Regions from separate parts of the Homo sapiens genome. Here regions 1, 3, 4, 5 and 6 are each linked to region 2. The links are contacts of gene promoters, found by promoter capture Hi-C in blood cells and fetal thymus (Javierre and others, 2016). All regions are on one chromosome and are shown on one strand. The core of a region is centred on a gene start or on the middle of the fragment in contact, and the rest is flanking DNA. Distances in the headings are between cores, read along the strand shown. Region 1 overlaps NHEJ1 (non-homologous end joining factor 1). Region 2 holds the start of PTPRN (protein tyrosine phosphatase receptor type N). Region 3 holds the start of NHEJ1 (non-homologous end joining factor 1). Region 4 overlaps NHEJ1 (non-homologous end joining factor 1). Region 5 overlaps NHEJ1 (non-homologous end joining factor 1). Region 6 overlaps NHEJ1 (non-homologous end joining factor 1).

What was found. The method cuts DNA at HindIII sites, captures the fragments that hold promoters and counts their contacts. A CHiCAGO score of 5 or more calls a contact.
Region 1: a fragment that was not itself captured here is called in contact with the fragment with the promoter of PTPRN in region 2 in 1 of 17 cell types (neutrophils); the score reaches 5.0 in neutrophils.
Region 3: a contact is called between a fragment that was not itself captured here and the fragment with the promoter of PTPRN in region 2, in 16 of 17 cell types (fetal thymus, activated CD4 T cells, erythroblasts and 13 more). The highest score is 10.0, in fetal thymus.
Region 4: a contact is called between a fragment that was not itself captured here and the fragment with the promoter of PTPRN in region 2, in 7 of 17 cell types (erythroblasts, neutrophils, M0 macrophages and 4 more). The highest score is 8.2, in erythroblasts.
Region 5: a contact is called between a fragment that was not itself captured here and the fragment with the promoter of PTPRN in region 2, in 3 of 17 cell types (erythroblasts, M0 macrophages and naive B cells). The highest score is 8.4, in erythroblasts.
Region 6: a fragment that was not itself captured here is called in contact with the fragment with the promoter of PTPRN in region 2 in 5 of 17 cell types (erythroblasts, naive B cells, naive CD8 T cells and 2 more); the score reaches 6.6 in erythroblasts.

The regions. Positions count from the first base shown.
Region 1 is chr2:219,137,329-219,141,912 of GRCh38, forward strand. The region is part of intron 5 of NHEJ1 (non-homologous end joining factor 1); the gene reads right to left. Among named protein-coding and RNA genes, the nearest start is that of NHEJ1, 21 kb to the right of the region's middle. The HindIII fragment of the contact is 1,670 bases long and covers 503-2,172 here.
Region 2 is chr2:219,308,118-219,312,578 of GRCh38, forward strand. PTPRN (protein tyrosine phosphatase receptor type N) reads right to left here and starts at 1,284. Exons shown (of 23, transcript NM_002846.4): 1 at 1,101-1,284. The coding sequence starts at 1,215. The HindIII fragment of the contact is 26,349 bases long and covers 1-4,461 here.
Region 3 is chr2:219,157,481-219,161,812 of GRCh38, forward strand. NHEJ1 (non-homologous end joining factor 1) reads right to left here and starts at 3,335. Exons shown (of 8, transcript NM_024782.3): 1 at 3,240-3,335; 2 at 706-882; 3 at 1-204. The coding sequence starts at 882. SLC23A3 (solute carrier family 23 member 3) reads right to left here. Exons shown (of 12, transcript NM_001144889.2): 12 at 3,985-4,332. RefSeq lists a silencer at 3,000-3,119. The HindIII fragment of the contact is 2,637 bases long and covers 1-2,569 here.
Region 4 is chr2:219,119,191-219,123,546 of GRCh38, forward strand. All of the region lies in intron 5 of NHEJ1 (non-homologous end joining factor 1), which reads right to left. Among named protein-coding and RNA genes, the nearest start is that of NHEJ1, 39 kb to the right of the region's middle. The HindIII fragment of the contact is 1,821 bases long and covers 2,054-3,874 here.
Region 5 is chr2:219,075,937-219,080,409 of GRCh38, forward strand. NHEJ1 (non-homologous end joining factor 1) reads right to left here. Exons shown (of 8, transcript NM_024782.3): 6 at 2,153-2,270; 7 at 1,310-1,428; 8 at 1-519. The coding sequence ends at 445. Among named protein-coding and RNA genes, the nearest start is that of IHH, 17 kb to the left of the region's middle. RefSeq lists an enhancer at 948-2,147. The HindIII fragment of the contact is 2,383 bases long and covers 393-2,775 here.
Region 6 is chr2:219,092,786-219,097,359 of GRCh38, forward strand. The region is part of intron 5 of NHEJ1 (non-homologous end joining factor 1); the gene reads right to left. Among named protein-coding and RNA genes, the nearest start is that of IHH, 34 kb to the left of the region's middle. The HindIII fragment of the contact is 607 bases long and covers 2,482-3,088 here.

The sequences.
Region 1 (4,584 bases), core at 88-2,587, 170 kb before region 2:
ACTATTCTTCAAATCACATAAGCATATGACCAAGAGCCTAATATTCCTAAAGATCACCTTCATATGTCAATTCTCCAGTCAAAACTTTCAATGGCTTCCCACTATCTGCAACAGTAATTAATAAGTGCAAGGAGAATGTGCCCCATCTCCCTCCTAGGAGATGTGTCCCCACTTGAGAATCACAGCACATAATGACAGTCGTTAACAATTGAACTAAATGGAGAAATAAATGTGTTACAGGCAAAAAAAAAAAAAAAAAAAAAACAAAAAAAACTGAAAACCACCTTCAGAATAAAACACTAATCTGCCAGCCCAACATTTAAGGCCCCCACAATTTAGCCTCAAGTTATTATCTTGCTAACTTTATTTTCTACTAATCCTCATCCATTCTTATTCTTATTTTCCATCCTTTGCCCAAGTGCTTCCCACCTAAAATGTCTTCCACATAGTTTTCAATCAAAGCCTAAATCAAAGCCCAGTTCACGTCCTGCCATTTATAGAAAGCTTTTTCTAATCACTCCACTACTATGGCCCTTATTATCATTCACTAAGCACTATAAGCTCTTTGATGGCAATATTATCATACCTTATATGCTCACAGAACCTCATTCAGCCCGCATGCACCTGACCGAATACCGAAAGGATGAATTAACTGCAAGTTTTTCTAGGTCGGAGAACTGACACACATAATAGGAGGGAGCATATTCTCATGCATCTAGACTTATCCTTTTTTACGATGCCCACATGGACACTAAAAAAAAACCACCCTGAATCCTATGGCTTTCTCTACATATTGAACAACAGGTACATGGTAAAAGGGTAGCCCTTCTAACTGTGGAAGTGGAGCCCTTGTGACTCTAAGACTAATTTTCTTTCCAGGATTTTGTTAGGTACTTATTCTTTTGACTTTTGAGGTGTTAGTCTCTTAACTGGCTCTAAAAAAAGAGAGGTTCTGGGATTTCTCAATAATAAAAGATTCAAGGTTTATATACACTTCATCCCGAAGTTGGGACTGCCTTTCAGAAAACATAAATGTCAAACAAATAAGGCAGGTGGTAGAATGGGAATATAGGCTACTCATCTATTTACATGTAAGGCTGCCTATGTCTAAGGCTACCAATAGGTGATTATTTGCTGGCCTATTCATAAGAGGAGGAAAATAAAAAAGAGTGGGAAGATATGATTTCTTCTTCTATTCAACAAACACTTATAGAGTGCCTACTATGTGTGGAGGCACTGTTCTAGGCACTTGGGCTAGACCAGTGCACAAAACATACATCTTTGTCCTTGTTGAGCTTACATTCTAACAGACAGGAGATAGACCATAAACAGTAAGTATAATAAAATAAGTAAATTTTATGGCAATATGTTGGAAACTAGGTGCTATAGAAAAAATAAAAAGTAGAGGATGGTAAGATGAAATGGGAGTGCTAAGGTGCAGGGGGGACAAATGGAGCTTACAACTTTAAATGAGTAGTCAGGGTAAACTCTATTGGGAAGGTAACATTTGAAAAAAGACATTGTTGTAGTCCATGTAGATGGATGTAGTCTATGTAGATATGTCTCCAAATTCTTTGACACAGCTCCCCTTAAGAGGTGAAGTTTAATTAATTACCTTCCACTTAAGTGTGACCCAGACTTAGTGACTCATTTCTAATAAAAAGAATACAGTGAGATAGTGATAGAATGTAACTTCTGAAATTAGGTTATAAAAGGACTGCAGGTCCATTTGGTCTTGGTTTCGTTTCTCATTTTCTTTTCTTTTTCTTTTTTTTTTGAGACAGAGTCTCATTCTGTTGCCCAGGCTGGAGTGCAGTGGTGTGATCTCAGCTCACTGCAACCTCTGCCTCCCGGGTTCAAGCAATTCTCCCACCTCAGCCTCCTGAGTAGCTGGGATTACAGGTGCATGCCACCATGTCCAGCTAATTTTTGTATTTTTAGTAGAGACGAAGTTTCACCATGTTGGCCAGGCTGGTCTTGAACTCTTAACCTCAGGTGATCTGCCCGCCTCAGCCTCCAAAAGTGCTGGGATTACAGGCATGAGCCACCCCACCTGGCCTTGGTCTTTGTCTCTTGGATCACTGGCTCTGGAGGAAACCAGGTCCTGTGAGTAGCCCTATGGACAGGCCACATAGCAAGAAATGGCACCTCCTGCCAACAGCCACATGAGAAAGCTTGGATATGAATTATCCGGATGTTACAATGACTGCGTTACCAGCTGACATATTGACTGCAACATCATGAGAGACACTGAGCCAGAATCACACCCACTAAGCTGCTCCCAGATTCCTGACCCTCAGAAACCATGCAAGATAATAAATGTGTTTTTGGTTTTTTGGGGTTTTTTGTTTTTGTTTTTGTTTTCTGAGACAGAGTCTCGCTCTTTCGCCCAGACTGGAGTGCAGTGGCACGATCTCGGCTCACTGCAAGCTCTGAGACCTCCCAGGTTCACGCCATTCTCCCGCCTCAGCCTCCCAAGTAGCTAGGACTACAGGCGCCTGCCACCACACCCGGCTAATTTTTTGTATTTTTATTAGAGACAGGGTTTCACCGTGTTAGCCAGGATGGTCTTGATTTCCTGACCTCATGATCCATCTGCCTTGGCCTCCCAAAGTGCTGCGATTACAGGCGTAAGCCACCGCACCCAGCCTGTTATTTTAAGCCATTAAATTTTGGGACAATTTGTTACACAGCAATGGATAACTAATACAGACTTTAAGGAAGTGAGGAAGTTGGCCACACAAATATCTGAAGAAAGAACATTCCAGGCAGAGGGAACAGCCAATGTAAAGGCCTAAAGGCAGTGTTAGAGTGTTAGAAAAACACTTAAGAGTGTTAGAAAAACAGCAAGAGGCCAGTGTGGCTGCAGTGGAGTGAATGAGGGAGGAAGTTGTAGGAGATGAGGTCAGAAAGGTAAGAGAGTTCTATAAGATCATATAGGGTTTTATAGGCCATGGTAAAGTCTTTGGATTTTACTCTATAAATGAAGTGTTAAGCCAGTGAAGGGCTTTGAGCAGAAGAATATCACGATGTGCCTTGCAACTTAATAAGATAGCTTTGTTGATAATAGGCCAGGAGGGGGTAGGAGTAGCTGCAGGATACAAATAAGGAGGCTTTTGCCATAATGCAGGTAGGAGATGATGGTGGCTCCAGTATGGTAGCAGCAGAGGTGAGATTACGGGCATAGTTTTAAGGTAAAGCCAACAGGATTTCCTGATGGACTTTGGCTGTAGGAAGTGAGAGGACAGCAGTCAGGATGACTCCAAGGTTTTTTCACCCAACTAAAAGTGAAAGAATGAACCTTCCATCAACTTAGATGGGAGGGGGTTGTTGGAAAAGTAAATCTGGGCATACGACTGGAAGTTCAATTTTGGACGTGTTGAATTTAAGATATTTTTTAAACTTCTTCATGAAAATGTTAAACAAGCAGTCTGGAGTTTCAGGGTAAGACCTACAGTGAAGAATAAATGTGAGATTCATCCACAAGGTGGTATTTAAAGATGTTATAGTGGAATGCCAGAGGAGCAGGCTGAAGATGTCAAAAGGATCAAATCATAAATGATCACGTGTGGCGTGCAAGGAGTTTGAACTTTATCCTGTAGGAAACCGGGAGCCACTAAAGGACTCTGAGCAAAAAGTGTCATAATCAAGTTTCAGTTTCAAAGACATCACTCTGACAAAACTACAAATTCAACTGCAGGGGAATAAGAACTGACCAGGAGACAAGTTAGGAGGCTGTTGCATGGTCAAGCCAAAAAAGGGACAGAAAGGCCAGGAACAGTGGCTCACACCTGTAATCCCAAAACTTTGGGAGGCCAAGGCAGGTGGATCACCTGAGGTCAGGAGTTCAAGACCAGCCTGGCCAACATGGTGAAACTCCATCTCTACAAAAAATACAAAAATTAGCTGGGCGTGGTGGCTCAAGCCTGTAGTCCCAGCTACTCAGGAGGCTGGGGCATGAGAATCTCTTGAACCCAGGAGGCAGAGGTTACAGTGAGCCGAGATTGTGCCACTGCACTCTAGCCTGGGCAACAGAGTGAGACTTGGTCTCAAAAAAAAAAAGCAGGGGGGGAGTGGGGGAAAAGGGAGAGAAAAATGGCTAATTTCAGACAACGGGAGGTAGAATAGAGAAGATAGGCAGATTCAAAAGACGGTCAATAAATTAGGCTTTGAAAGTAAGGACAAAGAGGAAAGTGAGTGACTCCCAAATTTCTAGCTTAGAAAACTGAATGGATGATGGTATAATTCCCCAAGATAAGGAATATAAGAGAAATAGTCTGGGGGAGTAGATAATTCATTTTGGACATGTTTAGGATGTGCTTTATGTGGGACATCCAGGTGGAAATGCCAAACATGCAGAAAGAAATATGGGCCTAAAACACAGTGGAGATATAAAATTGGTATTCAGCGATGTACCAACAATAGTTGACACTGGGGTCTAGATGAGATGACCCAGAGGAAGGAAAGTGAAGTCTCAGAGGATCAGGGACCTGATCCTGGGAAACACTAACCTTTAAGAGGCAGGCAGAAGACGGAGAGCCAGCCAAAGAAACCAATTAGAAGTGTGAACAAGCTTAACAAGAT
Region 2 (4,461 bases), core at 34-2,533:
GATTCATAGAATTACTGCAGGAGAGGTTTTGGCCAAATTCTGAAAGAGGAATTTCCTTCCCAAATATGGAAAAGCATCCTATAATGGCCTGGAACTCAGAAGAGGTTCTAGCACACTTCCCCCGGTCGGGGGAAAGAGGGCATGGGTGGGGCTGGGGAGGGTGTCTCTTAGGCATCTCTCCTCGCGCTGTCCCGAGCCGCTGGCGCTGTCCGCGGTGCTGAAGCTCTGAGTCTGGCGCCGCCAAGGGCTGGCCTTGGAGGCGGTTACCAGAGAGGAAGGGGTCACAGAGCGAGGACTCTCCACTAGACCTGAGCCCTCTGTTGTATTCTGCCAACCCACAGCGTCACAGGAAGTACTCTGCCTCTCGGGCCTCCAAGCCCGGGTGGGGAAAGAGGGCGCCAGGCGGCGAGGCTGCGCCCCTTCCCCCACGCGCCACCCTCCCATCCCCCACCCCCTGTCCGTGAGTCAGCGCTGACTGTCTCTGTCCGCACAGATGTGAGTCAGCACCAGGCCTGGCTGTGGGGAGGGGGACAAGAGAGGACCCTCCCCTCTTCATCCTCTTCTGCCCCCTCCCCGTGCTGTCCCCCGTTACAGGAGATCAGATCGCTGCAATCAGCTTCTCTAGGCTTACGGAGAAACCCTGGCCTCTCTCTCTGCCCAGCTGGGACTCTATGTCTGCGGCCCAGGCTTCCACTGCCCAGAGATCACCGTTCCCTCATTCTCCCCGCCACCTCCCCTTCCCATTCCTCAGCGCCTGTCACCACCTCCCAGGCGCCTCGGAGCAAGTGGCTTCTCCTGTGGTCTCGCAGCCGGTCTCTAAGTCCCTCTGCCCACATGCACCCCGTGTCCTTCTCCCGAACCTGCAATTTTCCCCAGAGCCCAATTCTCTTAGGTCCCGCCCCCGTATTCCCAGCCCCACCTCCAGGCCTACGCCCCTTTCCTCCGAGACGCCCTCTCACCTTCCTCATCTCGCATGCCTCCCCCAACCCATATTCTCCCCGAGCTTCATGACATTTCACCCTCACCCCCACCGAGTTTCGCTCCAGGCCCCAAGCTGCTCCCCGCCCCCCACCACCCGCCAGCCCAAGTTTCCTCCTGACCGTGGGCACTAACGGCGCTGCAGCCCCCCGGGCGGCTGCTCAGCAGCAGGAGGCAGAGGAGCAGCCGGAGACCCCCGGATCCCCCGAGACCCCCAGGCCGCCGCGGGCGCCGCATCTTTCCGAGCTCCGGGCGCTCGCTCCCGGGCCGGAGCCGCAGCGACGCTGGCGGGAGCCTGCCAGAGGGGCTGAGGCGGGGCTTGCCGCTCCCCACCTCCCTACGAGGCGGGGTCTACATGCCCCTCTCGCTGCAACGCGGCCAACCGCAGGCGGGTGCTGACGACACCTCCACCCCCGGCTCGTAAGCTAATTTGCGTCACATATGGCGTAAGAGCCCTGTCGGAGCGGGGGACCTACCTAGCCCATCCCTCCTCCATCAAATAGTAGGCGCCTCGCTAGAATTCCCACTTGGCCCCATCCCTGTAGCCCTCTTCTAGGATCACCTCTGTCTCCCCGCCCCAGGGTGGGTGAAAAGGGTTAAGTTAAGTGGGGGGCCAGGAAAGATAGGTGGGTCCAGAACGATAAACCCGAAGACAAGAAGCAGAAAAGTGGGTAGAATAAGTACTCTTACTCATTGTCATTGAAGATACTGTTCTCTTCCTTAAGAAAAAATGGTTAGGCATGCCTAGATTCCAGTTCTAGCAGGGCATCTACTAAGGGTATGACCTTGGGCACCTTGTTTAACTTGTCTGCGTCCAAGTTTCCTGATCTGCAAAGTGGAGGTGTTAATAGTTACTACCCGCCTCACACAGTGATTGTGAAGATTTTGTTCGTTACACTAATATGGATCACTTAGAAGGATGACTGGACTGGTGCATACTACATGCTCCATACATATTAGCTGTCATCATTAGCTTTTATTTATTTTTTATTGAGATGGAGTCTTGCTCTGTTGGCCAGGCTGGATACTGGCGTGATCTTGGCTCACTGCAATGTCCACCTTCTGGGTTCAAGCCATTCTCCTGCCTCAGCCTCCCTAGTAGCTGGAATTACAGGCGCACAGCACCTTGCCCGGCTAATTTTTGCATTTTTATTGGAGATGGGATTTCACCTTGTTGGCCAGGATGGTCTTGAACTCTTGACCTCAGGTGATCCAACGGCCTTCGCCTCCCAAAATGCTGGGATTACAGGTGTGAGCTACCGGGCCTGGCCTCATCATTAGCTTTGACTCTCCTTTCTCTCCGTCTGTGCCACCTCGAGGCTATCAATCATTTTATGGTTTCTCCCTGCAAAATACATCTCCCATCAGTCCACTTCTGTCCATCCTCACTACCTGAACTGAAACACTGTGCTCTTTCACCACGACCACTGCAGCAATCAGCTAGTAACTGCTCTTTTGCTTCCACTCTAGTCATCCAATAAGTAGGGGAGTGAGCTTCTTAAGTTCAGATTTGATCTCCTTCCTCTCTTGCTTTCCAGTAAAATAAAATAAAATTTAAAAAGGACAGAAATGCATAATGAATACTTACATACTCATCATCCATACTTAATGGTTATTGATGTTTTACAATATTTGCTTCTTTTTAGTATTTAAACATGAATGATAGACATCATGACATTTCTCTTCTAAATATTTCATTATGCATCTCCAAGAAATAAGGACATTTTCCTGCATAACCTAAGTGCTGTTATGACACCTAAAAAAATTTACAATAATTCCTTAATATAATTTTTTAAATTTTTTTTTTTATTTTTTTGAGAAGGAGTCTTGCGCTCTTTTGCCCAGGCCAGACTGCAGTGGCACTATCTTGGCTCACTGCAAGCTCCCCCTCCCAGGTTCACGCCATTCTCCTGCCTCAGCCTCCTGAGTAGCTGGGATTACAGGTGCCTGCCACTGCACCCGGCTAATTTTTTGTATTTTTAGTAGAGACGGGGTTTCACCGTGTTAGCCAAGATGGTCTCGATCTCCTGACCTCGTGATGCACCCACCTCGGCCTCCCAAAGTGCTAGGATCACAGGCGTGAGCCACCGCGCCCGGGCATTCCTTAATATAATTTAATGCTCAGTTCATATTCAAATTTCTCAGATTGTTTCCCCAAAAATGCCTTTTCTTTTCAGGTGTTTTGTTCAAAATAACAGTCAATTAAGAACAACCACGGCCTTTGTTATGTTTCTTAATCTCTGTAAATTAGCATAGACACCATATCCTCTCTCCCCTCCCCCATTTTTGACATTGTCATGTTGATAGACCAGGTCAATTTTTCTTTAGAACTCTTCTTCTGGGTTTATCTGATTTTTTTCTTCATGTTGTATTTCCCTGTATTTCTCCAGTGTATAACCTGTATATCACCTGTATTTCCTGTAAACTAGAAGTTATATATGAAGTATTGACTGTATCAAATTAAAGAATTTTTAAAGCAAAATGCCTCTCATTGCATCATTTCAGGAAGTACATGATGTCTGACTGTTCTATTAGTGATGTTAAAATTGATCACTGGTTTAAGGTAGAGACAGCCAGATCTCTGTATGTAAAGCTGTGGTTTTCTAATGTGACCAGCATGTAATTCTTGGATGATACTTTGGCACTGTGAGACTATCTAGTTCCTCATCAACTTTTCACCTAATGGTTTCACTATTCACTGGTGATCCATCCTTGACTAAATGATTTCATTAGAGGTTGCAAAATGGTGATTTTTATAATCCTATCATTCAATTCACGTTTATCGCTTATTTTACTTTGTAAAGAAGGGCTTTCTCTCATCAACTGGGTTTAGTTTACACTAAAATGCAATTCCAACTGGAAAGGTAACATATATTCTCAGCTTTTTCTCTTTACCCTTCTGCAAAATAATGAGTCTGTGTAGTGTAGTGACCTCTAACAGTGACTAATACATTTTTAAACATTTATTTATTTATTTAGAGTCAGGGTCTCACTCTATCACCCAGTCTGGAGTGCAGTGACAAGATCATAGCTCACTGCAGCCTTCAACTCCTGGGCTCAAGCAATCCTTCTGCCCCAGCCTCCTGAGCAGCTACCATTGTGAGCAACCATGCCTGGCTAATTTTTTTTTTTTTTTTTGTAGAGGCCAAGCACAATGGCTCATGCCTGTGATCCCAGCACTTTGGAAGGCCGAGGCAGAAGGATCACGTGAGCCCAGGAGATTGAGACCAGCCCGGGCAACATGACGAATCCTTGTCTCTACAAAAAATACAAAAATTAGCTGGGCGTGGTAACACGTACCTGTAGTCCCAGCCAGGTGTGGTGGCTCATGCCTGTAATCCCAGCTACTCGGGAGGCTGAGGCAGCTGAATTGCTTGACCCTGAGAGGTGGGGGTTGCAGTGAGCCGAGATTGCGCTATTGCACTCCAGCCTGGGTAATAGAGAGAGACTCCGTATCAAAAAAAAAAATTTTTTTTAATCCAT
Region 3 (4,332 bases), core at 1-2,500, 150 kb before region 2:
ACTAGCTAGCATGCAGTGGAAATTCCAATAGAAGGGGAGGCCAGAGAGCTCACTTCGCACCCGTAGAATCAGTGCATCTGCCACACAATCACAGGAGAAGGTAGCTTCGCTAGGGTGAGCAGCGTCCTTCAACAATGGGCGAAGGAGATTATCCAAATGACAGAGGAAAGCTGCAGGAGGAGCAGTGAGCCGCTTGTTCAGCTCCTAAAGAGAGAGCAGTGGTACAGAGTAAGGGTGCTAAAAGGAAACTAATTCCCTCATAAGTAACAGCAAAGGAAAGCCCTGGTTAACACGAAGGCAATGGACATGAGAGGAAGGGGAGAGAAGATAAAAACATCACAAGGGGAAAGAAGAAAACAAAAAGAAGAGAGTCACAAAGACCAATTGGCCTACTTCACAATTCTGCCTTGGGCAAGATTAAATCACAAAAGGCCTATCTAGATCAAATAATATATTCATTATCATGCATAGGGTAGGGAAACTAACTTTCTTTCTCTCTCTCTCTCTCTCTCACACACACACACACACACACACACACACACACACACACACACACACAAAGATTCCAGGCAGAAGTACAGGTAGAAGTACAGGACATTAACTGGAATTGTCTCAACCCGATTCAACCTTCCTTGGGAAACTACAGGCCAGCAAGCTGGTTGATGTTCACATCCCCGACACAGCAGTACTTCTCCTCATACTTACCTTGGCTCGCTGGCTGACCACACTAGTGTCCACCTGTTCATGCCACACCTGTTGAAGATCTGAAACCAACAAGGCATAGCCCTGCTTGGTGATAAAAACCTTGGCCAAGAGGGAGTTCTCTGCAAGCTGTAGCCACGCCCATGGCTGCATCAACAGGCCTTGCTCCAGTTCTTCCATCTGCAAAAAAGTCCTCATTTAGTAAAGAGCCTCAGGGTCATGCTGGCCTAGGGAGGGCACCACCCAAACCAGTCTGTATCAACTAAAATCTCATGAAAATCCTCCCTGATAAAATAGAAGGCATGGATTTACGTTCTCCCAGTATACAACCAGCTGAGCACTGACTTTACTACCTCCTGGCCACTAAAAGTATATTTAAAATCTTGAGGGTTTTTTTTTTCCCATATTACATTCCTAGAGGACAGAAAATCTTTCTTCCATAGTGTTTAAACCTCAGCATATTGCTGTTAGTATTTCTGCTTTCTAATACTATAACATAACGTGGAAACCTAAACCCTTCTTGTTCCATCTTTATCACATTCCTAATAAATATGTCACTCCTATCCTTTCCCAGAACTAGAAGAGAAGGAATAGTTCTTGTCTTATAAAACATCATAAGTCATAGTGTCAGGGCCAGGAAATTCGAAGTATTTGATCATTATCTAAAAACAAAGTTTAGGAAGCTCTCAGGATTTTTTTAAAAATCCCTAAAACAGGTTCTTAATCTAGAGTCAATGCATGTGAATCCTCTAGAATTATATGAAAATGTTATGTGTACACGCATATATGCATGGGGAGGGGGAAGAGGTCTACAGCTATCATCAAACTCTCAGGGATCGATGACACAAAAAAGAGCTAAGAACCTGTGTCCAGGAGCAACAGAAAAGACCTAAATTTCATTTCAACAAAAACCAGAATGACTAGGAAATCATGAATACAAGGCAGAGCACATCACAGAGGTAAAGACTGAATTAACTTCCACTTAACTCATCCTCCACATTCCCACTCCAGTGCACTGCCACCAATGACAACATGCCCAGCCTGGAACCCCTGCAAAACAACTTTTCTATCTCAGCAGCTAAAGTAGTAGGCTTAACCTAGTAGACAATCAGAACTACGGCTGCTTGACAGAGAATGTGATTGTTTTTCCTGTGGGGGAGAAAAAAATATGTCAATTTCCTTCATTATTCCAGTCTACAAATATAAAATGAACAGAAGTACCAGGAAGGAAAAATTTAGAATGTAAATAATGAAATTCCTTATTAAGTCTGATTAACACAGTCATTTCCCCTAGCTTTTGAAGTGTGCCCTTGTGACTTGTGACATAACTTTATATATATATGCATATATATATGCATATATATATATGCATATATATATGCATATATATATGCATATATATATGCATATATATATATGCATATATATACATATACGTGGTGATCTTTCTTTATGGCATCCTCAAAGCCTTGTGTTTGGAGGATGGTGTTTCCGTCACATTTCCCACATGCTGCTCTTATGGGGACAGAAGTGGTCATGGGATGATTAAGCTAGTCCTAGCCGGACAAGAGCTCCACAATGCCAAAGGTCACAAACGCGAATAAAGTCGCCACTTTCATCTCCCTTATAGGCACTCCCCAGTGTACTCTTAACAGTTGCCAAAATTGGGTTTACTATTCTAGCCCATTCCTTCGGAAAGCCCGGAAGCTCAGAACCCTCAAATTGATGGGTTTTGTTTGTCTGTTGGGTAAAGGGGGAGGAGTTTAAAATGTGGCCAGGAGTAACGGGCCCTATAAAAAGGCCTGACACATTGGGCACCAGACCCCGGCTGCCTGCTCCCACCACACGCGTCCCGTTCTGCGTCCGAAGCTTCTACACTTCATCCTTTTCTTTTTTCCTTCAAGGCTGCCTCTAACATTCACATTAACGAGATTCACGGGTTTATTTCTCTTGAGTGGAGGGGCGCTGAGCGGCATCCCGGCGGAGGGGTCCCTTGAGAACCTTTATCTGCACCGAGTCCGCTCCTCAGCAGTGACCCCTCTGGGCAGTTCCTCCGACGCCCTGCAGAGGGCAGTAGAGGCCCAGAGAGCATCCCGGCTGGGCCCCGCCCGGTCCCCCTGGGACAGCGCGAACCCTAGGTCCCACCACAACCATAGCCCCACCCCAGGAGCCGCCAGGCGTCCCGCTTCCACCCGCCCCAGCTATAACAGCCTTCGCTGTCCGCCTTCCCATTTCTACAGCACTGGCTGCACTGGGGCGCGGCTTCAAGGGGCAACAAAGCCGGCCACCAGCGGCTTCGTCGCACCAAACAGGCGACCAACGAGTACCTTCACTCGAGCCCTACCATCCACGCCGGGCAGCAGCCAGCGGACTGCGCACGCGCGGCCCCGCCCACCCCTCCCCCGGAGGCCTGCCCTGGACCCCGGCAGCGCGCGCTCCCTCCAGGGAGAAAAGGCCAGCGCCAGGGCCAACCCGCAGCGTCTGAGCAGCCCCTCGCTGGCTTGCTCCTGCCCGGACTCGAACGCGATTCCACCTACCGTCAGCGGCCGCGAGAGCGCCCACTCTCTTAGCCGCACGCACGCTTTCCTGCCCGCTCGCGCAAACCGAAAGGCCTAGAGTAAGAGGCCGCTTTCCCCCCACCGCAAGAGGAGGCAGGGTCTTGGGATACAGGGGCGGGGCCTATGCCTGGCGTGGGCGGGGCTTCTGGGCCTGGGACACTGATGAGAGGAGCGCCCCAGTGGCCAGGGTAAGTGGAGGAGAGGCCGGGCAGCCGGCTAGTAGAAGGGTAGTGGCGCGTCTTGGAGTCACGCTGGCCGAGTGGAAAGAATAGCGGGCGAGGCGCAGGAGAGGGGAGCCCAGGTTTGGATTTGTCAAACTTGAGTCACTTCTCTTCCCTCCCCTACCTATCCGGTCTCTTTTTAACAAAATAAGGGATTGAACTTCTGTAGATGATCTCTCAGGTCCTCCACCAGCACTAGAGTTGTTGAAGGAAGGAGTCTCCCAGGCATAAGTCCCATAGTCCGACCTCATCCTTTACCTCTCCTGCTTCATTTCTCCATCATCCCCGTACTTATACTCCCTCACTACTGAGAAATTTGAAACCCCTCACCTATCTTGGACTTTGTACAACCCATGGCTTTGCTCAAGCTGGACCCCGAACCTGAAAACTTCTCTGCATCCATTTTCCAAAACCAAAAATCCTCATTTGTCAAGGCCATCCTCATTGCTTCTTGCATAAAGCCTTTCCCACTGTCCCCAATCAGAATTCATTATCCCTTCCTCTTTGCTCCCACGGCATTATTTTAATCTTTATTACAGACTGCTTTCTGCTTTGCATTTTCGTTAGTAATTACAAAGGTCTTTTTAAACCGTAAATGCCTTGAGACGGCATGGACCCTGTCTTATCCCTGTAGTTCCAGGACCTTGCACATGGGAGATGCTCAGTAAGTATTAAAGTGAATGCTGGGGTTCAAGTGGCATTGATAGTACACAGGCAAAATCTCAATCATTCATGGTCCACTAAATCATGGCCTCTGCTCTGGAACAGTTAGGCCTAATTAAGACAAGGAAAGGCAACCCACCCTATTGGGAAATGGAACCTCTAGACAGTCCCATGTAATACACACACAC
Region 4 (4,356 bases), core at 1,714-4,213, 190 kb before region 2:
TATCTGTAAAGAAGTGTCCTGAAGCAAGAAAAGTATTTCAAGATGGAAATCTGTCAAAAGACAGAAACAAATTCACAGAAAAGAAAAAGAGGCTCACAGAATGAGACAATAGTGTAGAAACTATGGCATCTGGTGGAATTGGCCCTAAAGGAGTCTTGCCAGGGACAGAAAGTGAACTGTCTTCCACTCTGGATTGCTGGGATCCCCCTCTCCCCATCAACCTTCCTGTCAAATCAAGACGTTAAGGGTAGAGATTCCAGTGATGGGGAGCTAGAAGACATTAAGCCCACAATAATTTCTTACCTGAGCAACAGCCAGGGTAACCAATCCCCCACTCCCCCATCCCTATTTCAGAAGAGAATCCCTCCCCCTCACAAACCTGAGTCCTCCCCGCCACCCTGCCCCTGGCCCAGCACAAGTAGGACAATGTTTTGGCGCCACCTGCTGTCCTTTCATGACAACTGAGTAGAACAGATCTTTGAATTGAGTGGACCTCAAGCTACCTTCCTTAATTCACCATAAATCCTAAAGGAATTTAATCTAAGAGAAGAGAAACCATAATTTCTATTAAAGAGAGTATTCCTGTGGAGCACACTGGAGAAATCCAGTGCTCCAATCTTCTCCTGTTTCCTTGGACCCTAACTAGCCAGAACATTCTCATAGGATTTTTATATCCAGTCCTACAGCTCTTTGTGACGTTCCTTCTCCAAGAGTCTGGCCGATTTGAGAAAGACAAATACTCAACAAACCCTTTCTCTACTTAATAGAGTCCACATATTTTGAAATTACTATATCACACTGTTTTGGCTTTCTTGGTTTGGCACAGAAATTCGAATTTAGCACCGAGAGGACATGATCTAGTGTTTGTCATCAAACACTAATGAACGCAGTATCACCCAAAAAGCAATGACTTAGATATATTATGCTGCTGTACCATTCCTATGGTCTTCACTCTGGGCAAACATTCTAATATGTAGTAAGTTCACTGAGCAGTCACTTCATCTCACAAAGATACTTTTTCATTCATTTAACAATTTCTACAGCCCCTATTATATGCCAGCCACAAACTGGAGGTACAGTGGTGAGTGAGTCACACAAGGTCCATACTCTCAGAAAGGCTACATTCTAGGATCATTTATCTGACTCAATAAGGTAGTGTAGCAATTTCTCATTCATCTTAAAGAAAATGTAAGTGAATAGCAAAGATCAAGACAAAAATATAAACAGGCTTTGGAAAAAGGCAAAATGAAGAAATATAAGAAGAAGGAATCAGAATAGGGGGCAATGAATGAGTATATAAAAAAGTGTTAATATTATTCTTTCTGGCTATGTTTTTTCCCTAAACCCCATTCCTGGACCTAACTCTAGGAACTGCATGCCAGTGTCCAAGGTCAGCTTCCTCAGACCTCAAGATTTACAGGTCTTTGTAGAAAGAATGAAGAAGAGGCGATATTTATTCAATACCTAGGATTGCTAGCTTAAATTATATGCAAGTATTTCCCCCAAATGTCAACTTGGGAAATATGTGGGGCTCCATCAAGTATACTGCCATTTGTAGAAGAGAGAAAAGTCTCTGATCGGCCCTAGTATGAGCCAATAAATCTAGGGAAATAGAGAGCCACCAAATCTTAGGGCTAGCCATGTCCTCTCCTAACCTCGTCCTCTAATTGTTCCAAGCAGGACTCTACTATACTGATCATTATGTAAAGAATCTTAAAGAAACAGCTCAGGTACAGTGGCTCATGCCTGTAATCCCAGCACTCTGGGAGGCTGAGGTGGGTGGATCACTTGAGGTCAGGAGTTCAAGACCAGCCTGACCAACATGGTGAAACCCCATGTCTACTAAAAATACAAAATTAGCCAGGCATGGTGGTGCATGCCGGTGCATGCCTATAATCCCAGCTACGTGGGAGGCTAAGGCACCAGAATCACTTGAACCCGGGAGGCTGAGGTTGCAGTGAGCCAAGAATGCGCCATTGCACTCCAGCCTGGGCAACAAGAGCAAAACTCTGTCTAAAAAAAAAAAAAAGAAATCTAGGAAAGGAGTTCCCAAAGCTTCCCTAGTAACATAATCTAGTCAGGTAAAAATTCTCTCTACTTCAACTACATCCTTATAATTCAAGTTTATCCCTTCTTGTACTATCTTGAGCAAAATGCAGGAAAGCTATTTACTATCCTATATGTGTTAATTTTCCATATTTAAAAGAATGAACTACCATTCAATCTACTCTCTGAATTAAATAATTCCATTGTCCTTGGATTTTTCTTATTTATCCTATGTCCACCTCTTTTATTATTGTTCTGATTTTTTCTATGGGCATTAAGGCCCCCGTGCATCTTTCACACGTGACATCAAAACCTCAAGAGCAGCTGGACACAGTGGCTCATACCTATAATCCTGGCACTTCGGAAGGCTGAGGCAGGTGGATCACTTAAGTCCAGGAGTTTGAGACCAGCCTGGGCAACATGGTGAAACCCCATCTCTACTAAAAATACAAAAAATCAGCTGGACATGCTCCTAGCTACTTGAGAGGTTGAGGTGGAAGGATCAGTTGAGCCTGGGAGGTCGAGGCTGCAGTGAGCCCTGATTGCACCACCACACTCCAGCCTGGGCAATAGACCCTATCTTAAAAAAAAAAAAAATTAAATTAATGAAAATTGTTTAAAAACCTGAAGAGCTCAACTAATGCTAAATACAATAGTAGGGTGGCTTGGGGTTTTCATGCTATTCTTTTAATTATAGTCTGGAATTATATTCATCTTTTTAAATACCCAAAATATACCAAGAACTATATCGCAACTGGGAGCTCTTACTAGTTAAATCTTTCAAGAAAAAAGGTGGGGCAATATCTCCCACCTAAGGAGTAGAAGACCACTTTATAAGCAAGAAGTTCTATTCAACAAGAGACTAGACCACAGGGGAACCATCTGACAGCAGGAGCAGCAGCCACGGCTGGTAAGTAGGGAGCCCAGGAGGGTATTTACAGCCTTGTGGAGGGTTATTCAAGAAGTCACAAAAATTTTACTTTACTTTCCTTAGATCCACGCACCTTTCAAGAGCTCCCTGGGGATCTTTCACTAATTTCCCCACCAGGGAATGACTTCCTCATCTGTCCTCACTGAGCACTTCATGTTTGTCTTTATTACAGCACTCTTACTTTGGTAAGATAAGTGTGTGTACACCTATCTATCTCATTTTCTGAGCCATATGCTTCTTGGGGGCAGGAATCATGTTAGTTATCTCTGTACCCTTGGCACAGTAAGTACTTAAATATGTTAGTTTCCTATCCCCCATAGTACTGGTACAAGAACCTAAACCCAGTGGTATTCAATAAATGCTGGATAAGGATGATAACATTAATAACAGCCATTCAGCACAACTCCACTAAGTTGTCAGACCAGTTTAGGATATTGGCATGAAAAATGCTTTTTCTCCTGGCCCAGACATTTACTCTTAAGATTTGCCTCCTCCTCAATAGACTCCAGGAAATAGGGTTAGTTTTAAGTTCTAGAAACTCTAATCATTCCTGTTTTCTCCAAACTAAGGGCCTGAAGGAAGACTGCAGATACCTCATGAATATTGATGAGCCTCTGCGGTCACATGAATATTAACAACACCCTGTGGCTTTCGGGAACAGCAGCCCAGCTAGAAGGTCTAATATTAACCTTGGCTAGGCCCAAAAAGTAGAAAGCGCATATGCCCATACATCCCCATGGGGAGTAAAGAGTGGATAGCGGAGGCCAGTTTGGAGCTTGGCCCCTATGCAAACACTGGGCACACAGGCAGTTAAGAAAGAACTAAACATTGTGTCCTACGTCCCTGGCACTGGGGGGCTCTGTTAGTAGCTACCCAGGCAGGAATCCCCAATTCTCAAGCTTTGGAGAAGTTAGGATGTAGAGGCTAAATCATACTCAATTCAGAAAAACACTGGTAGGGATACACTGACCTAGTTCAATAGCTACAGTAGAGGGGTAGGAAAGGTTGACAGTCAGATCACATAGGACAAAAACCAGAATCAAATTACAAGGCTCAATTAGGCAACAAAGACATATTTTGTAGATCACACATTAACAGTAAGTAAAGTTCTATAGACTGGAGTTTCCAGCCCCATACCCTCCCATGAGACTAGTGGACACAGAAAACAATGACTGAGACTTAAGCGGAAAGCTATTCTACGACTGATGCAGTGAGAGACAGAAGGAGTCAGAATCTTTTTCCACCTACAGATCCTCAACCCAGGAAACATCAGAAAGAATGATGATCATTATTAAAAACAAACAAAAACAACAAAACAAAAAGTACTGTGAATCAAAGTTAACCAAAGAAACCCATGTACGCCTAGCCCTGGGTCTAAG
Region 5 (4,473 bases), core at 334-2,833, 230 kb before region 2:
TATGAGTTCCACAGCATAAGTAATCCCAAAAGCAGGGACTGTGAGTGCTTTTTATTCCATGCAAAAGAGAGAAGTGGGTCTCTGAGGAGTATCTGGGGCTGGCTGGCTAGAGACGCTAGGGAAAGGTAGACAAGGCTTCCTGAGTGTGTGGTGCTTTCTTGCTGACTTGCCCTATATACCTAAAGTCCATGGTAGAAACCTGAACCTACAGAACCTCCACCAAAAGAGAGGAGAGCACGGGATTCTCAGAGACTGGCTTCCACTTGAACAGGGAAGGCCAATTCCCTGTGGGCCTGTCAACATCAACTTCAGTTCTCTCGCCCTTACAGGAGGCCTCTGACTGTATCACTATTTTAGAAATATTGCTGCCATGTAAGCTTCTTTCAAGGTGAAGCTTGGAAGCTGTTCTCCAAGTCCATCCTCAGCAGCTGAGGCCACAACAGATTAACTGAAGAGACCCCTTGGCTTCTTCCTCTTGACCTTTGACAGCTGAGGTCTCTGCAGAGGGCCTGAAGTACCCTAGAAAAAAGGGAACCCAAGTTAGTAGGGGTTTTGAAATAGTTCCACTGAAATTAGGAAAGGAACTTTCTTCCTCTCATGGCTCCTGGTTAGGATGAGGCCTTTTTTTTTTTTTTTTTTTTTTTCCACCCAGGCTGGAGTACATGGGCACAATCAGAGCTCACTGCAGCCTTGAACTCCTGGGCTCGAGCAATCCGCCTGTCTCAGCCTCCAAAGTAGCTGAGACCACAGGCACATGCTGCCATATCTGGCTAATTTTGTTTTTTGTAAAGATAGGGTTTCACTTGGTTGCCCAGGCTGGTATTAAACTCCTGGCTTCAAGTGATCCTCCTGCCTTGGCCTCCCACAGGTTGTGATAACAAGCATGAGCCACCATGCCCAGCTACAAAGAGGAGGCATTCAGGAAGTGTCTGACATAGGTATTTTGAAGTCTATGTCAGACAGCAAATGCGATATAAGACCCTAAGCAGGAGATGTAGATTCCCTTCTCCCCCAAGGAATAGCCTCGCTGACTATCACTGGTCATCACTGGCCATCACCGGAAGTGGGATAAGGTGAAAGAGGAGTCAAGGCACATCATTCGTACAAGACCTACAGAGAAGGGACACCAAGGGAAGATGTGCAAGACCATGACTCTCCATCTAGACACCTACAATTTGGAGCCTGGTCACAAATATCCCTCAATATTTTTGAGGCAGTGCCAATGAAGCAGCAATTCCAGGGACCACTGGCTTGGGGGCTATAGGTGCCAACTCTCAGAACACCATCCAGGAAGCTGCTCATGACTCACCGTGGACTCTTTCTCAGGTGCTGAGAGGGTTGGGGCTGAGGAGACCAGTTGTTCTGGCTGGTTTACACATTGGCTATCGATTCCTTGCAGGGAAGCACTGTTTGAGGTATGAGGATCTCCTGAAATCAGAAAGATCAAGAGAAGATAGTGATAAATGCCTTCTTCTTACCAGGAAGATATTAGCATTCACCAAGCATTCTGATAAAGGCCAGGGTTTGGTACAAATATATAAGCAGACAGAAGTAGCCACAAGTCCAACTTCCAGCTGACTTTCAGAAAGTCCTGTTTCTGCTATGAAGATCTCCCCAGGCCCACTTTCAGCAGGTAGGATGAGAGTTTCCTCGACTCAAAACAGCCAGCTGTTCTTCTACATATTCCCTCACATGTCTCAGGTATGGAGATTAATTTTTTTTTTTTTTAAAGAGATGAGGTTTTTGCTGTGTTGTCCAGGCTGGTCTCAAACTCCTGGCCTTTCCCACCTCGGCCTCCTGAAGTCCTGAGGTTACTGGTGTGAGCCACTGCGCCCAGCCAGGGAAACTAATCTTTCTCCTGGTTCTTTTGCTAACCCTTCTAAGTACCTAGACCAGTGCCACCCAATCGAACTTTCTGCAATGATGGAAATGTTCTGTGTCTGCATTAACTTGGTAGCCACCAGCCACATGTGGCTACTAATCACTTGAAATGTGGCTACTGCAAAAGAGAAAATGCATTTTTAGTTTTATTTCATTTTTATTAATTTAAACTTAAATAGTTATATGTGGCTAGAAAACTATCATATTGGACAGCATAAACCTAGATCCTAATTGTATCCTCACACAGACCGGGTACCTCTGGAGGGCTCACCAGCGCCTTGATGCTTCTGTCCCACTTGGACCTCTTGTGTGGTGACTGCCATATACAGATCCTGCAGATTCATGACAAAGGGCTTTCCATCACCAATGCTGCATGCCTCTGGCAGTTTCTGTAAGAGAGAGGAGATACTGTCATTGGTTACACTGTATTGCTAGAGAAGCGATCTAATACCCCACATGCAGAACCGGCATCAACCCCAAATGAATTAATATAAAGCAGTTAGATCCAATAGGGGGCGACCATATCCAAGCCTGGTGGCAACCAATATAAAGATTTCTTGGGACATCTCCTCTGAAGGGCAACTCCAAATGTATATCTTATTTCCCCTAATCCTTAGGTCTATTATGTTTTCCCATGAATACCCTATAGATTTCTAGGCTCTTTTTCCAAAGGGATGATTTCTTAGAAGGCTATTTTAGGAAATTATTTCCCCTAAATTTTCCCTGAGCTGAACAAATTACTATTTTCATTAAATTCATTCATAAACTAGAGAAAAATGATAAAATTCAGGATAAAGGAGAGAGAGCAAAATGGTAATGACAGACTGAGAGGCAAGAAACAATTATGGAGCTGTGATGTTCAGGCAGAGGAGACAGGAAAAACAAAGCTGACAAAGCTTTTGAGGCCCCCGGCCATTTTCCATTCCCCACTGCTGTCCCACCCTCCTTTACTATCACCCACATGCTCACAGTGGGCTGGCTGAGATTCCCCCAAGGGAGTGAAAACTGTTCTTGAGGGGTAAAAAAAACTGACTCTTTTAAAGTATAAAGCGTGCACACACACACACACAGTACATAAATAGATTTTTTGGTATACCTGTGGCATTAAAATTTCCTGATAGGGAGTGATTAGGCAAAAAATGTCTTAAAAGGTTCCTTAGGGAAGTGATAATTTTTAAAAGGCTGAGAAACACTGCTATGATTACATTATATTTATCTGTTTCCTTCACTACAGAATGAACTGTGGACTTACATCCACAGCAAAATACTTTGCCTAGTTGTAGTTTCATACACTTGGCTGAACTGCGTTGAGGTAATGGCTGAAGACTGAACAAAGTGCGATAAAAATGAGATGAAAGAGTAGAGTGTCTAGTGGTCCCAAACCTGGCTGCACTTCGGAATCTTGGAAAGGGCCCAGAACTATTTCACCTGTCCCTAGGCGTGCAAATCACCATGGTTCCCAGCCAAGTTAGCAGGTCCCCAAGAGCAGCCATGCCAGCAGCTCACATGAGAACCAACCCAAGAATCCTGGATTGGCCCATACCTTGGGTCAAGGGCACCTTTTTGTGCTGTAAGGGCATTCATTTCTGAAAGCCCTCTCATGGGAGAAGAATAGAAGAGAGAAAGTGTGAGAAGCAGGAAAGCAGGTGCTGAACCAGTCAGGATAGCTGAAAACCTTGTTGATTACCAGGAAATGTCACATACATTTCTACTCCAACCCTATCCCCACAAAGACTATATCAGGCCTGGACTTTCACTGGAAACCACAGGCAATGAATCAGAGCCCCGAGTCCAAACTTTGCCTCTAGCCAGTAATCACACTAGAGTCTAACAGCCCTCTGGCAGCATTCCCTGAGGAATGAACTGAAACAGGGAAGGTAAACTATCAGGCCACACCACCTCTACCCTACCTCACTCTCAGGAGTTCAGCTCTCTAACTCCCAAGACACCGCCTTCAAAAGAGGGTTCTCTCCTCCATAGCCAGAGAGCCCTGATGGTGGGGAGGCAAACAGCTGCCCTCCTTCCTTATATATTGACCTCTAGCATCTCCCTTCATACTACCCAAGAAATGATGCCTCTCTTAGGGTCACTCATACATGACTTGGTAGGCACTGTGCTGTCTACATAAATGGGTTAGGCAGAATGAGGCAGTCCAGAGTCATTTCCTCCTGCCCTTTCCATGGAATCAAACAGATTCATCAATTTTTCAGGGCGACCTTCACTCAGCTCAAGTATTTAACCTCAAAACGAAGTGCTAGAAATGCTGCACCTGGGTCTAAATGTGGAACCTAATCTAAGCCCTTCCGCTGTCCTTCCCCTTCTCAGAGAGATCTGGTCCTGCAGTTGCTGGCAAAGTTATTCCACCTGACTATTCTCAGAAAAGTCCTAGGAACAGCATATTGCTAGAATTGTCGAATACTTAATATATGCTAGACATGGCCGGGCATGGTGGCTCACACCTGTAATCCCAGCACTTTGGGAGGCCGAGGCGGGCGGATCACAACGTCAGGAGAACGAGACCACGGTGAAACCGCATCTCTACTAAAAAAGACAAAAAATTAGCCGGGCACGGTGGTGGGCGCCTGTAGTCCC
Region 6 (4,574 bases), core at 1,535-4,034, 210 kb before region 2:
CATGCCAGTCAATGGTCTGCAGGAGTAGAAACAAATTGGCTGTGGGGGGCAGAGATAAGAGATCTTGAGATCCCAGAGAAAGAAGCTGCCTGTCCAGTTTCTGTGAGGCATGGGTAGCCATCTGAAATTAGGTACCAAGAGACCTCCCTGTGCCTATTCAGTAAAACCCGTTTTTACTTAAGCTAATTAAGGGGATTTTTCTGCCTTACAATTAATTGCTGAGATAATACTTTAAACAAAAGTGCTCACTGAAACATGTTTGTAATAGACTATGTATATGTGTGTATATTAACAGCCTTCCAGATGAGAAATTCCTTAATTTATAATCGGTTCAGGGTACGTATACTCTAGATTCTGTAAAGCCCACAGCTGCTGATTTCCATAAACCTGCTGTAGAAGGTACCACTGTCGAATACCTTAGGGAGGAGGGAAAGCCACCTGTCCTCTACATAGAGGGCTACCCTGGCAGGCAGGGCGACTAATCAACAGGTAGACAGTGAACTCGTAGGAGCCAGAGGAAACGGAGCAGGATGAACAATCAGTAAAGAAGTCAGGGCACTATCTGAAACTGTGCATCTTTAGGTTTAAGGAGGCAAGGACAAGAGGGATATATAAATGGCCAGAAGAAGAATCCTAAGCTATCAGAGGTCCTCTTGCAAAATGTGTCTTAAACAGATTTTTGATATTATTGGCAGGGGAAAATTGAGAGGGATAAACTGTGCCCTGAACACAGAATGGTCAGTGCCTAAACTCCCACAAGACAGATGTAGATCTGGGGCCACTTCTGTGGAGAAGGGAACAGAATGACCTTCCAGGCCTCTCCAGCTGCTCTTCCCACTGTTTTTAATACCACTAAGGGCAAACAGGAAAGGAGAAGTGACTGGGAAAGGAACTGAATGTTACTATTAATTAAATGTTTAAAAATGCAGTTGAATAGTGGGTATATAGTGTTTGCTTTATTATATGTTCTATTGTGTGTATTAAATATTTTATAGTAAAAATATTTTAAAAAGACACAGTGAAACCAAATCAAACCAAACACACAAATGGAAAATGAAATTACTTAACACAACATCAGCAGTGACTACTGAAGTCCAAGCACGGAACGTGTGTGGAGGAAATCTCCAGCCTGTGTCAATGCCTGGTCCCACTAGACTCCAAGTTTAAAGATGGGCAAGGATTCTGAGGAGAGGCTCTAGAGAAAAATTAGTAAGTTCTGGATACAAAGTCACTTTCCAGGAAATCAAGACTGGCAGGTTTTGAGGTGAGGAAGTCGAAGGGACAGAAGGTCAACTGCTAGGCTTGAGTTATCGGCCACCAGTTTAACTTAAAAGACTCATTCTCAACAGGGTACCTGCCTAACCCATGGCTGGGGTGGTGATGGAGGGATCTGATCTGATCTAAAATGTTAGGATGACCCTAACATCCAGTGCCTGGGGAAAATTAAGCAGGACTTACTAGCCATTAAAAAGATCCCAGAAAAAGATGGAGGGTAGGGAGAAAAAAAGAACTGGAAATTAAGATATACTTCAATTCAGACCTCCCACTCAGAGCAGGAGTCTGGCAGTACTGTGGAAGCGGAGGTTGTGGCTGGGTGCTGGGAGAAGGGGACTGGAAAAAGAGAGAAGTACGAATCTGCAGAGGAGTCAAGATAGGCTTGATTTGGAAGAAGTTTTCCTAAATGGATATGATCAGGCTTGAGGCTAAGAGCTACTTCCTGAGACTTCTAGTTCCCCGGTTCAGAATCTCTTCATCCCTGTCCTCACTCCTGGCTATAGTCCAGGTACTCTAAAATGCCCAGATCATTTCTAGGTGTAGTACATCTCACACTCTTTTGGATCTAGGTTTCACTAAGCAGGAGAGAATGCCCTGGTTACTCAATTTAGCATTTCCTAACTGATAATCTCTCCACTTCCTTGCAGGAAGTTATAGCTGTGGGTGTAGGATTCCCACTGAGTGTGCTAACCCCCTATCCTCAGGCTCACTTAGGAGGCACAAACAGGCAGCCCTGACACCAGGCTGACCCTACGCAACAGAACAGCACTCCAGGGTTCATCTCCAGGTGAGGGGATGAAGGAAAGACCAAATCTAGGCTCTGGTTACAGGGCATCTTGAACACCTGCTAATAATAAAACATTATCTGTCAAGGCCTTGACCCTCCAAACCACCAAAACAGAGGAAGAGGGTGGGAGAGGAATTTTAGTCCCTCTGATTTTTACCCCAGGTAATAACAACACCCCACTCCATCCCAAAGGCCACTAGCCAGAGTAGAAGAGCACCTAGGAGGATCTAAAGAAAAGACTGACCAAGGTATGTGGAAGACTGTATTGGTCCCATCCTAGAAGGTGGGCAGTGGGTGTGGCTAAGGAAACACTTGGCTAAATCAGCTTTCTTCCTTTCCCACTTCCATTCAGCCTAACTACCGACGTGGCTTTTGTAAGATCTGTGAGACAGTATGTCAGGGAAGACAATGGAAACAAAAGCTTACCATGATAAAAAGAGACCGATGCAGCATGTAGAGTTCTAGGCCAATATGCCGGGTCTCCAGTTTTGATGGGTATATCTTTTAACTGAGAGATGATAAATTATTTAGTTAGTAGTAGTCCTGACTGTTAAAAGATCTCACCATCAAGTTCTTAGCATGTGTTTCTGGGTGATATTGTACAATGCTTTAAACCTAATGGTCACTTAATAGCTGTCTCCTTCCCATATCATTCCCCATATAACTGAAACCTAAGTTAAAGACTCCTTAGCCTCTGCCAACTTCTTGTGGCCAGGCCTGGACTACTTCAAGGAAGCCCTTACCACAGGGATGAGAGCTCACAGCCAATGGGGAGAGCACCATCCATAGCAGGGATTAGTTTCTTGATTAAATTCTTAAGAGCCTAGGATCTAGTTCAGGGAGGAGGGGTATGGGTACTATTATAAATGCAATCAGAGAGCTAAGGGGCAGGTTTCAAAGTACACAGGAAATTCAAAACATTTTCCAGGAGGTAATGAGGAGGACTGAAAGCAGAAAACCAGATAAAAGCTGGCGAAGCAATAAATGTATCCATTTGACAACATCTGAATTGGGCCTAGGTAGAGAAGCTTTAAAAAAAAAACTGGCAAAGGGTAAGAGGCTTGATAAACCAAGATTTAGATTCAGGGAAAGAGGTGGAGACTCATATTAAGGGGCTCCTAGATACAAAGCATTCTACATCATCAAGAAACATTTCCTAAAACTCAACATCAAAGCCCAGAAATCAAGGAATCAAACTTAGAGAGGGCCACTTGGAGAAAGGATACATGGTTTTCTAAGATTTCCTTCTTTCTAAATAATTCAAGGCAGGAGGAAAGTGAGAGGACCTATCTCTTGCTATTTACGTATTTTTTAATTCTTTGAATTTTTATTGTATAAAGTTGATAGAACTTTGCAAGACTAATCCCTCAGGAGAAGAATACTTGAGGACACAGGAGAAAAAGAGTTGGCAATGACCTGGGAAAGATTCTGTAAACATAAAGTGCTGTAGAGATATATGAAATTACTACTCAATTGACTCAGATTTTCAGTCATTTTTGCTCCGCAATCATGCCTAAAAGTAGACAAGTATTAATTCAACAGGTATTTATTGAGGCCCTGCTATGTTCCAGGTACTGTTCTTGGCTACTGAGAAACAAAAGTCAACAGAACATACAAAAATCCCTGCCCTTGAGGAGCTTATATTATAGCAGTCAAACACCATCAATATTACAGTTATGTTAGGAAATGTTCAATGCAATGGGGGAAAAAAAGAGTAGGGTGAAGGATTGGGAATGTAGGGATGAAAAGGTGGGATGCAATTTTAAATAAAGTGATCAGGGTAGGCTTTGATGAGATGACATTTAGCAAAGATTTGACAGTATGGGAATTAGCCTATGGATATCTGGGGCACAAGTGTTGGGAGCAGAGGGCATAAGACAGGAGTGTGCCCAGGGTGTTAAACAAAACAGTAAGGTGACCAATGTAGCTAGAGTGAAGTGAGGGAGACAAAGGTGGTAAGAGATGAGGTCAGAAAGATTATAGGGATCAGGTAAGAAGGGGCCTTGTGAGCCACTGTGACAACTGTTTTTACTTAGAGTAAAATGGAATCCCTTGCAGAGTTCTGAGCAAGGAAGTGGCATGAACTGACTGAGAACTTTAAAGAATCACTCCAGCTTCCAGGTTCAGAAGAGATTATAGACAGTTCCTGGCTTATGATTTTTTTGGCTTTACAATGGTGTGAAAGTGATATGCATTCAGTAGATATTCAGGGATATTCAACATTTCATTATAAAATAGGCTTTGTGTTAGATGATTCTGCCCAACAGAAGGCTAATATAAGTGTTCTGAGCATGCTTAAGATAGGCTAAGCTATAATGTTCTATAGGTTAAGTGTATTCAATACATTTTCAACTTATGATATTTTAAACTTACGATGGGTTTATCAGGATGTAACCCCATCATAAGTCAAGGGACATCTGTATAGGAGAACAAGGATGGAAACCCAGAGACAACTGCAGTCCCCTAAGCAAGAAATGATGGTGGCTCAGACCAAGGTATTAGAGCAGAGGCA